2 separate regions of the Homo sapiens genome follow, and region 1 is linked to region 2. The links are contacts of gene promoters, found by promoter capture Hi-C in blood cells and fetal thymus (Javierre and others, 2016). All regions are on one chromosome and are shown on one strand. The core of a region is centred on a gene start or on the middle of the fragment in contact, and the rest is flanking DNA. Distances in the headings are between cores, read along the strand shown. Region 1 overlaps PKIB (cAMP-dependent protein kinase inhibitor beta). Region 2 holds the start of SERINC1 (serine incorporator 1).

Region 1 (5,655 bases), core at 8-2,507, 260 kb before region 2:
TGCCTCAGCCTCCCGAGTAGCTGGGACAATGCCACCACATCAAGCTAATTTTTATTTTTCTACACCCAGCTAATTTTTGTATTTTTAGTAGAGACGGGGTTTCACCATGTTGGCCAGGCTGGTCTTGAATTATTGACTTCAAGTGATCCACCCACCTTGCTCTCCCAAAGTGCTGGATTACAGGTGTGAGCCACTGCACAGGGCCCCTTCTAGCTATTTTAAATTATATGTTATTACTAAGTATAGTCATTCTACAGTGGCATAGAACACCAGAATTTTCATTTTCCTCTGGCTCCTCTCTATCCCCCTGTCCCTTGCCAAACATCTGCCCAAGTTGTCAAGCCACCTGAGGAAAACTAGTGGTTTATTTTCTAAGTAGGGCACCTCCCCTTATACTCACTAACGTTTTAAGAAAGTTCAAATCTTTTCTACCCAGAACACAAAATATCTCTGGGTACATGACACAGAATAGATTCTTTTTGTTCTTTCTCCTTTATACAGAGTTAAGTTTTCAGACAGCTGCTTTATAGCTTTATTGTCACCTTTTAGCCTGATTATCTGACAGTGTTAATTTAGACTTCATAGCTATTGACTAAAGCAAGTGCCTTGTACAAAGACAATGGCAAAATGGGCAAGGAGACTTTCTTTAATAAGTCCCAAATAAATAGCTTTGGTAAAAGTGTCTACTTGCTATGACAAAATACCATAGGTTCCTCAAAATAGCTTGATTTTTTAAAAAGTTGGTAGGCAAATTCAGCGTTGTCTTTAAACTGCTACTGACCTCTCATTCTCCTTTGTCTGGACTCCTCAGGGAAAATAAACCATTTTCGTTAGCACATATTCTCAGTGAACAAGCCTGATACCTTGGGTAATACAAAATAATGGAACGTTTGTGTGTGCATTGTAGTGAATAATTGATTTAGAATATATATCATTCAGAATATATGTAACTGTTAGCAATAATGAGGAGGGACATGGCTTTACTTTTGGTCTTCTAAATGAGAAAAATATTGTAGAAAACTATGATCCAAGAACGATGTTACTTTATTTCTTCTACATTTTCATGGAACAAATTACTCATTTAAATACTGACTCAAGATTCTATTTTTTTGCAGTAACTGTCATAAAACACTAGTGAGCAGACTCATTGTTAAATGGTAATACTCATGGCCTGTCAGTCACCCATTAGCATGATTGAATTAGCATTCATGTGGTAATTACCATGAATTGTCTATTTCTACCATCCTGTTTTCTCCCAGCACCAAGCATTGGGGATATCACAGAGATTTTGTGAAGTCACAGAGAAAGGCAGAAGACAGACAAATAAACAAATTGAGCTTCCTACCACCTCCACTACCACAGTATTGGCAAGAGCATCTTGAATAAATATGACAACGATGATGATGATAGCTAATATTTATTGAATAATTATTCTTTGCCAGGCATTATTCAATTGTTTTGCATATACTATCTCATTTACTGCCTCCACCCACCCTATAAAGTATGCGCTATTATTAAAACCATTCCACAGAGGATAAAACTGAGACTTAGAGACATGATGTAAGTTGCCCAGGATCACGCAACTACTGAGTAGCAGAGCTAGAATTCAAACCCAGATAATCTGAATTTAAAATCCATATGCTTAACAGTTTAACTCTACTCCAGAGTGTCTCAACCTCAGCATTGTTGACACACATGACCGGGTAATCCTTGCTGTCAGGGCTGCCCTGTGGAATGGTAAGATGCTTAGCAGCTTAGCGGTATCCCCAGCCTCTGCCCACTACATTACAGTAGCACCTTTTCTCCCTTGCTTTCCACCTCCAGTTGTGGCAGCCAAAAAGTCTCCAGACATTGTCAAATGCCCTCTAGGGGGCAAAATTTCTTCCCCATCCATGCTGAAAACCACTGTTCCACTCTAACCCCTCTTTATCTGATTATAAAACCTCATGTCATTAAATAACTTTTAGAAATATAATTTTAATGGCTGTGATAAATGTTATTGAATATTAAATTAGTGCTACACTTAAAATATTACTTTTGATTATTTAATAAAGAAAAAATTATATTTGAAAACTTAAAGCAATCAGGTTCTTTGAGATCTACCCCTTTGGTGTATATAAGATATAAAGGTAAGCTCTGTCAATTAAATAATAAGCCAGAGGTGATTTATATTGCAAAGACTGTTAACTTCATTCTATAAAATGTGTCACCATTTTTTACTCAGCCTACTTCTGAAGATAAAATGAAGGAGACTTGTGTCAGTAAGAAATCTCTTTAATAGTGAAAGAGTTTATTTGGTTACTGTATACAGACATAGCCTAAGTCAACAATCAAATAAAACATAACTGCATGCATATATTTCTGAAAATGAAAATAAATTAATTACTGACATTTTTAAAACTTCAGAATTCTATTATTTTTCTAAAATATCTAATAAATCAAAATTTACTAACACTTTGGTTTTATTTTTGCTCCTTTTAAAATATATGCTTAGATATATATTTAAAGGATGTATTTTACTATTTCTACCAATATCATTGACTAAATGCTTAAGTGCCTACTGCTATGTTAGCTACTTTAAAAAAATATAAAAATTAAGGTCTGCATTGCTGAGGAAGTTATTTAAAAACAAGTCAGACATACACAAAAGCCCTAAGAATAAGAAAAGAGAGTGTAAAACAACTAGTATTTTGTATAATTCATATTAAAGTAAAACACACACACATACACAGACCAAAGTTAGGGAAGATAGTAAAATTCATTTAATAGGCATGTTCCATATAACCATTTTGTTACAAATTTTGCATTTTCCACATGAAAAAAATCACAGTAGGCACATACTAGAAGCAAAATATGTCAGACAAAAATATCCTAAAGATGTTTCTGTTATCAAACTTTTACAATTTTTCCAAGACGTTTTTGAGGTTTGGGAAAAAGTCTGGGGCATTTTTGGCAAAAAACAAACACACTCTATCCATGTGAGTTTTGACTATTGTTCTTTCTCACCAAAAATGTCCATAATTTTCTACAAATTCCATGAAGTTTTAAATCAATCATGTTTGATTTACATTTACCAAGAATGATTTGCCCATCACCATAAAAATTGAATTAAAAATACATCAGGCTAAATAAATCCAAAAGAGAACAGTGAATTTTGTTGGGTTTACAGACAGTGGTATGCATTTCTGTGATCATGTATTATTCTTAACCTTTTCCTTCAGTGCGATTTGGAAGTAACCTGCCTTTTAATAGCTTACCTTGGACATCATCATTGCAATCAAAGTGAGTAGCATCACAACACAATTATCTAATATACACATGCTGCTTAGGGCTGCAATGTTACCACAGTTACCACCAGATTAAATGTCTCAAGAAAACAGAACCACTAAGTCTTTCAACATGCAGAAATTCAGCACTCTTGATAGATTATGAGCCTTCATTTTTCTTCATTTTGAGGCTTTTCCAATTGGTCTTGTGTTGTTTTTTCATCTTTCTCTTTTGCATCTGAAAAAAAAATTTCCATTCATATGTGGAATATATTGAAATTTATTTTGTATTATGTTAGAATAAAACCATTGGTTTTTCCTTTGTCCACCGTCCATATTTTGCCCTCAATTCAGATATGGAAACTATACAAAGAAGAGCGATATGAGTAGGTTTGGGAATCTACCTTCTCCTGATCAACTTTCTCCTATTCTACAGAGTTATGAAGTGCCAGACAGTCTTCTAGGGTATTCTCAGAGCCTCCATTTACAGATTACTAAAATGAAACACAAGCAGGTAAAGTGACTTGTCCAAAGTCAGAGACTAGTGAGTGACAGTCACAACTTGAGCTTGGGCCAACTGACTCCGTGGTGTATGTCCTTAGCCAATTCCCTATGCAGGATTGCACTCTCCCCAGCTTCTTCACACTTTCTACTCCCTTTGCTCTTTCTTAGGAGACAACCTCACTTTCTACTTCATAGGAAAAAAAAATAATCAAAGTTATCAGACAGGAGTTCCCTCAACTTCCTGCCATTAAATATCTAAAACTCCCCGTGATCTGTGCTTATTCTTTCTGCCTTCCCTCTTTTTACAATGGAAGATGCACTTGTGAGCACTGGCTATGTAATTTGTTGGTGCCCAGTGCAAAATGAAAATGCAGTACGCTTGTTCAAAAATAATGAAAAATTTCAAGACAGCAAGAATAGAACATTAAACCAAATGCAAGTCTCTTCTAATCAAGGAGCCCTATGCAACCACCCTGGTTGCACAATTTTGGAGCTGGCTCCTGGTGTTACTCCTGCTATGCAGTCTAATACCTTCATGATCCCCCATCCTATCCATTTTTGCTTCATCAAGAGGCTGACTCTAATAATCATCTGCGCTCTTCATTTTACCTGACTTTCCCTTTCTCCTGGCTCCTTCGTTCCCACAAGTCACTACTGTCTTTAAACTAACAAAGACCCTCTTTCAACTGTAAGTCTTCCACATACTATCTTCTCTTTCATCCTTTAAAAGGTATCCCTCTTTTGTTGTCTCCGTTTTTAAGTGAAACTATTTAGGTCTACTACTCCTGCAAAACTGCTCCTACCAAGTCATCAATGGTATCTTTGAAATCTGATGGACTCTATTCAGTTCTTCAACTCTCATTCATCAAATATTTATTAAGCATGTACTACGTACAAGGCAATGAACAAAACATGAATCCCGGCTCTCAAGGAAAATCTGATGAGAAATATGGACAATAAACAAAATAAATGAAATGTGTGGTCAATAAGAAGTAAAAAGGGCTAATGAAGACATTAAAACAGGAGTGGAAAATAGAAATTTTCAAGAAGTCTTGTGGCCTGAAGGATGCAATTCTAGACAGAGTTAGCTGGGAATGCCTCACTGAGAAGGGGACATTTGAGTAAAGGCCTGAAAAGGTGAAGAAGAATTCTATATAGATAGTGGGGAGAAGAGCATTCCAAGCACAGAGAAAAACAAAGCCAAAGACAATAATATGCAGGAAGGATTTGCAAGCGGGACAGTGGTAGAGAAAATTGGAATAGAAAATGGAGTCATAGAGGTACCAAAAAAACTAGATCCTGTGAGTGAAAAATGGCAGATTTATGGACCAATTTTGAAAGTAGAGCTGACAGTATTCACTGATAGATGGGATGGAGAATACGAGAAAAAGAGGGGAGAAAAGGATGATTCCAATATTTTTGGCAATAATTTTGTTAACTGGAAGTATGAATTGCCACTCAGAGATGGGAAAATGCAGAAAGAGCTGTTGTCAGGAGACTATCTGGAGTTCGCTTTTATACCCATTAAGTTTGAGATTCCCATTAGATATCCAAGCGGAGACGCCAATTAGGCAATTAGTATATGAGTGTGCAGTTCAGGAGAGCTCCAGGTTGGAGACAAAAATTTGTAAGTCATCAAAAGCACAATCATTATCCCAACGAAATCAGATTACATCACAAGTGAGGGAGTGTTGATAGAGATGATGTCCAAAGACTGAATTCTGATAACCTCCAATTTATTTAGAGTTAGGGGAGATGAGGAAAGAAAAGCTGAAGGAGGAGCAGCCAGGGAAGCAGGAAGAAAACCAGATGAGTGGAGTGTCCGGAAAGCCAAGGGAAGAGAAACGTTACAGGAAAGAGTGACAATCATCTGTGACTAAGAGAT
Region 2 (5,108 bases), core at 969-3,468:
AGTAGCTGGGATTACAGAGGTGTGCCACCATGCCCTGCTAATTTTTGTATTTTTAGTAGAGACAGGTTTTCGCCATGTTGGCCAGGCTGGTCTGGAACTCCTGACCTCAGGTGATCTGCCCGCCTCAGCCACCTAAAGTGCTAAGATAATGGGTGTGAGCCACCATGCTCAGCTAGATAGAATGTTTTTTACTAACGTACTTACTTAGACTAATTTGAATTTTGGCATTGTAAGTTATACGTGTGCTACAGGAAGTCACCTGGAGAAATGGGTGCTCCTACTAATAGCTGGTATATATTGAGAAAACTATGCTTTGAGCTGTGTTTGGGTTGAAATTTGAAAAAGTCATCATTTCAATTTTCTTTCATAGTTGGCAAAGAGAAAAATGAGACTGGTGTCGAAGACTCTTCTAACGAATAAAATAGTCTATATATACTGTCGTGTCCAATTAATGTTGTATATATAATAACTTAAGTGAGCAAATTCCACTCCACATAGCCTACAGGTTAAATAAAAGTAAATTTTTTTTAATGTATTTCAAGGCCAAGTGTTACATTCCAGAAAGATTAATATGACTTTTGTATTTAACTCTGAATATCTCAGGTGAAAAAACTCTATTGAATAGTGCAAGAACTTATGAATATCTCAGAAACCCTCTTAAATGGAGCAAGAGACAAGAATCTGTGCAAATTTAAATTTTAAGAGACCCATTCTCCATTTGGCTAATAAACATATTCTTTACGACCTTAAAGTTACTCACATATAAGTGTTTTTTGTCTCCTTCTCTGGTACTTTGAAAAGTTTAAGGACTTGAGATACTAGGATTCTCTTCTCCCATAAATAACGTATTAAGTTTAGCATAATTAAAAATATTGTTAGGTTTGTAATTTCCATTTCCACTATTCTTTTTTTTTGAGACGGAGTCTCGCTCTGCAGCCCAGGCTGGAGTGCAGTGGCCCAATCTCGGCTCACTGCAACCTCTGCCTCCCGGGTTCAAGCAGTTCTCCTGCCTCGCCTCCCGAGTAGCTGGGATTACATGCGCGTGCCACCATGCCCGGCTAATTTTTTGTATTTTTAGTAGAGATGGGGTTTCACCATGCTGGCCAGGCTGGTCTTGAACTCCTGGCCTTGTGACCCGCCTGCCTCAGCCTCCCAAAGTTCTGGGATTACAAGCATTTCCACAATTCTTTAAACCTTATGGATGCTCTATTATAATACTTTGCTTTAAGAGTGGTCTACAAAACCACAGATAAGGCAAAGAAGAATAAAGCAAGATTGTCCCTTAGTGGTTACAATAACTAGGAGTAGGGATTCTGACATTCTTCCAGATTCTTAGGTGTTTACCCCACCTCGACCCATGCAATTTTTGTAGATTTTACAACACTTTCTTATTATTAGTTATGGGAATGACTATTTCAAGTTTGAGCTGTTTCCCAGAATATTTTCAAGAACAAATAACTCTAAAAAAATAACTGGAACTTTTATAGGAATGCATTCCCTGCAGATGTGCATCATCACCTAATATGCAAGGGTTCCACATGCCTCAACAGCTCATGACATTCGAAATCAATGTTTGAGTTTGATAATGTCTTATCTAACTAATTAAAAATAATTTTAACGTGCAAATTTCTTGTAACATCTTAATAGCATAAGAAATTAAAATATAAGTCAATAGCAAACAGAAATGATACAGAGAAACTGAAGCACACAGATGAATATAAATATCCCAATAAAACTTGTTCCGGGCAGCGGGCTGCAGGAATACGTTGCAAACGCAAGAGCAAAACAGGATGCAAACGTGGGAAAAATGGGAAATAAGTGGAGTTAGGACGGACAAAGACTGAGAAAGAGGAAGCAATCCCCTAAAAAGCAGAGAGGTTCCTCAGATGAAGGAGGGCAAAACGTCAACCACCACCTCAGCTCTGTTCTCTACTAATGCCCAAATGCAAGTGCATGGTAGGTAAAGGTGGGTTTTGCTCACACCGTTTTCTTAATTTGGCAAACTACGGTCAGATCCACATTAGCCGTTAAGTTTCCAGCCAGCAGTCCTTGAGAAATTCTCCAGGAAAGAAGACAGCCGTGTCGTCTAGTGACGCGCATGCGCAGTCTCAGCGCTGCGCGCTCCGTGTTTTATCCTACCCAGGCCTGGAAGGAAGTGACGCGAGGCTGAGGGGCGGGTTGCGCTGTGCGTCCGGAAGTGTCTCGCAGATAGTAAATAATCTCGGAAAGGCGAGAAAGAAGCTGTCTCCATCTTGTCTGTATCCGCTGCTCTTGTGACGTTGTGGAGATGGGGAGCGTCCTGGGGCTGTGCTCCATGGCGAGCTGGGTAAGGTGCTTTTTGCGGCCTCTGGGGTGCTAGTGTGAGAGACCAAAGAGAAGGCGATCCGAGCCGGGGCTGGGTGAGCCCGGCGGGAATGTGGTGCCCCACCCAACAGGGAGTGCCCTCTCTGTCCCCGTTTTCTTCCCGTCTCCTCTCGTCACTCAGACTCAGCTTCAGAGCTTTGGGTCTTGCGAAGAACTGATCACTGGCCGTAAGGTTTAGTGGCGATGGGAAGATGACTCAAATTGAGGAAGAGAACTAGAATAGGGCCCCTCCCCCACCCCTGCTTCGTGAACGCTGTCTCCCATTCTTTGAGGTCCCTTTTCGTGGTTTTGTTTGTATCTGCGCAGGCCATCTCTACAAAGGTCTTTGCCCCTTTCCTTCGGTGGGGTACCCACTCTGTTGTCATCTCTTTCCTGGCGACCTCAGACTGCCGCACTGTCGTTCCTGGATTCATGTCGCCCTCTTTGTTCAGTGGCGCAGATTATGATTAAAAAGTGCCTGTCGTCATTTGGAACCGCCTGGCAGTAATGCTAATGTAGTAATATTGTTTTTGAAACAAATAGTCATAGCTCTGCCGTAACTGTTTGAAGTGTCAATTTCAGATTTCAACTTAAAATTGAAATTTCAGATGACACACGCATGCCTTGTGCCTAATGACAATTTTGTCTTTAGGCACAAAACATGCGTGTGTCATCTGAAATTTCATGCTTAATTAGCTGTACATTGCATTTTCATTAAAGAGTTGTTAGAGTAAAACTATTTTCAGTATAGTGGCAAGACTTTGGTCCGTGTGGCACAAATTTCAGTTTATTTAAGATAATCTCTGCCCCCTCCAAAATAGTAGGCAAAACATTGGCAGTGCAGTTAATAAAGATATTTGTAATTTTAGGCGAGGTATTTGGACTCAAATCACTTTTCTTTAGTCTGGAATTTGTTAATTCTGTTTCTAACAATTGCTTTTCTGACTTCCCAAATGATTCCGTTATATATACTCTTAAAGGTTTTGATATGTCTTGAACTAAAAATGTTGAATTTTAATCAAATAATAATGTGGGGATTGTTACTCCAGCCAGTCTGTTCTTTTGATTATATGGTATTTCTTCTTGCACGGAAGCCTGGAATATTTTATCTCAAGATATTAGAGAGTTTAATTATTGACTTTTATACAAAAGAGGCATATTTAGTGTGATAAACAGTTTTGAAAACTGATAATTGATTATCATATAAGATTGTTTTCATCGGTTTTTTATTGGAAGATGTTATGCAATTCAATTTGTAATGTCGTATCTTGTCCAGTTATGAAGTGGGCGTGCTGTAGTTTTTTGTATATAATAGAGATTTAAAAGATGAGATACATGTTTTCCCTTTTACAAAATAGATCGCCACCTTTATTGATTAGAAGAATGTCCGTGATAAAATTGACCCTGCCTTTTAGTTTCTGTGTTAATAGCGAAGTACATTAAAAAGGTAGAAGCAGTGAGGCAGTTTTTTAGAGATGGGGGTCTAAGTGTATTGGCCGGGCTGAAGTGCAGGGGATGGTCGTAGTGAACTGCAGCCTGGAACTGCTGGGCTTAAGTGTAACCTCAGCCTCCCAGGTAGCTGGTACTACAGGCAGGTGCTACCGTGCTCAGTTTGGAATTTATTTTATTGTTTGCAGTTTCAGTAATCTTTTTCCCTTTTCTTCCTTGTGCCTCTGTCTCTATTCATTAATTGTTTGATTTTACTGCAGGCCAATAGTCATTGAAGGGGACCATCTCTTCCACATTCTTAACAGTTAATGTGCTCATTTACTTAGAGGTTTTGATGAAATTAAAATTTATTCAGCTTTTCAAAAGTAACACTCAGAGCCTGCTGCAGTGGCTCACGCCTGTAATCCCAGCACTTGGGAGGATGAGGTGGATGGATCACTTGATGTCAGGAGTGGGAGACCGCCTGGTCAATATGGTGAAACCCCGTCTCTACTAAAAATACAAAAAAAAATAGCTGGGTATGGTGGCACATGCCTGTAGTCCCAGCTACTCGGGAGGCTGAGGCAGGAGAATTGCTTGAACTGGGAGACGGAGGTTGCAGTGAGCTGAGATCATGCCACTGCACTCCAGCCTGGGCAACAGAGCAAGACTCCATCTCAGAAAACAAAACAAAACAAAACAAAAAAACAAAAATCAGCCGGATGTGGTGGCGCACACCTGTAATCCCACTCGGGTGGCTGAGGCAGGAGAATCTCTTAAGCCCAGGAGGCGGAGGCTGCAGTGAGCCAAGATGGCGCCACTGCACTCCAGCCTGGGCAACAGAGTGAGACTCTGTGTCAAAAAAAAAAAAAACAAAAACAAAAAACAGAACAAAAAAAAAGTAACATTCAAATCATTAAATTAGATCAGGTAAGCCAGAATTAAAAACAAACCAACCTCATTCTTAATTAGTACAAGTTTCTGCAGGCTTAATCAAATTTAGTAAAAGTTTTTTCCTTATTTATAAAATAATTGTAGAAAATGTCTGAACTATAAAGAGACAAATTATGTGTAATACCACTGAGCAGAAATTGGAGTGTTAAATTGTTCACTTTTTGTTTGCTGCTAAGAGACCTAGAATTAGATTGATCATAATCCTTGGTTCATGGCAGTATAATTTTTTATTCATGCATGGTTGTCTCTTTTTTTGATTGTTAATTACTTTAAACATTATAAACATCATACCAACTAATCCTATAACTATAACATTACCAATCACTAATACCTACTTACATGCTTTTCCCCATCCCAGTCTCAACATTGGTATTAGTGAGTAG

The links. The method cuts DNA at HindIII sites, captures the fragments that hold promoters and counts their contacts. A CHiCAGO score of 5 or more calls a contact.
Region 1: a contact is called between a fragment that was not itself captured here and the fragment with the promoter of SERINC1 in region 2, in 3 of 17 cell types (M0 macrophages, megakaryocytes and erythroblasts). The highest score is 5.5, in M0 macrophages.

The regions. Positions count from the first base shown.
Region 1 is chr6:122,722,977-122,728,631 of GRCh38, reverse strand. PKIB (cAMP-dependent protein kinase inhibitor beta) reads right to left here. Exons shown (of 5, transcript NM_181795.3): 5 at 2,259-3,504. The coding sequence ends at 3,437. Among named protein-coding and RNA genes, the nearest start is that of FABP7, 54 kb to the left of the region's middle. The HindIII fragment of the contact is 9,461 bases long and covers 1-5,655 here.
Region 2 is chr6:122,468,917-122,474,024 of GRCh38, reverse strand. SERINC1 (serine incorporator 1) reads left to right here and starts at 2,218. Exons shown (of 10, transcript NM_020755.4): 1 at 2,218-2,326. The coding sequence starts at 2,288. It also overlaps a transcript of PKIB not described here. RefSeq lists enhancers at 2,059-2,118, 2,169-2,568. The HindIII fragment of the contact is 8,379 bases long and covers 1-5,108 here.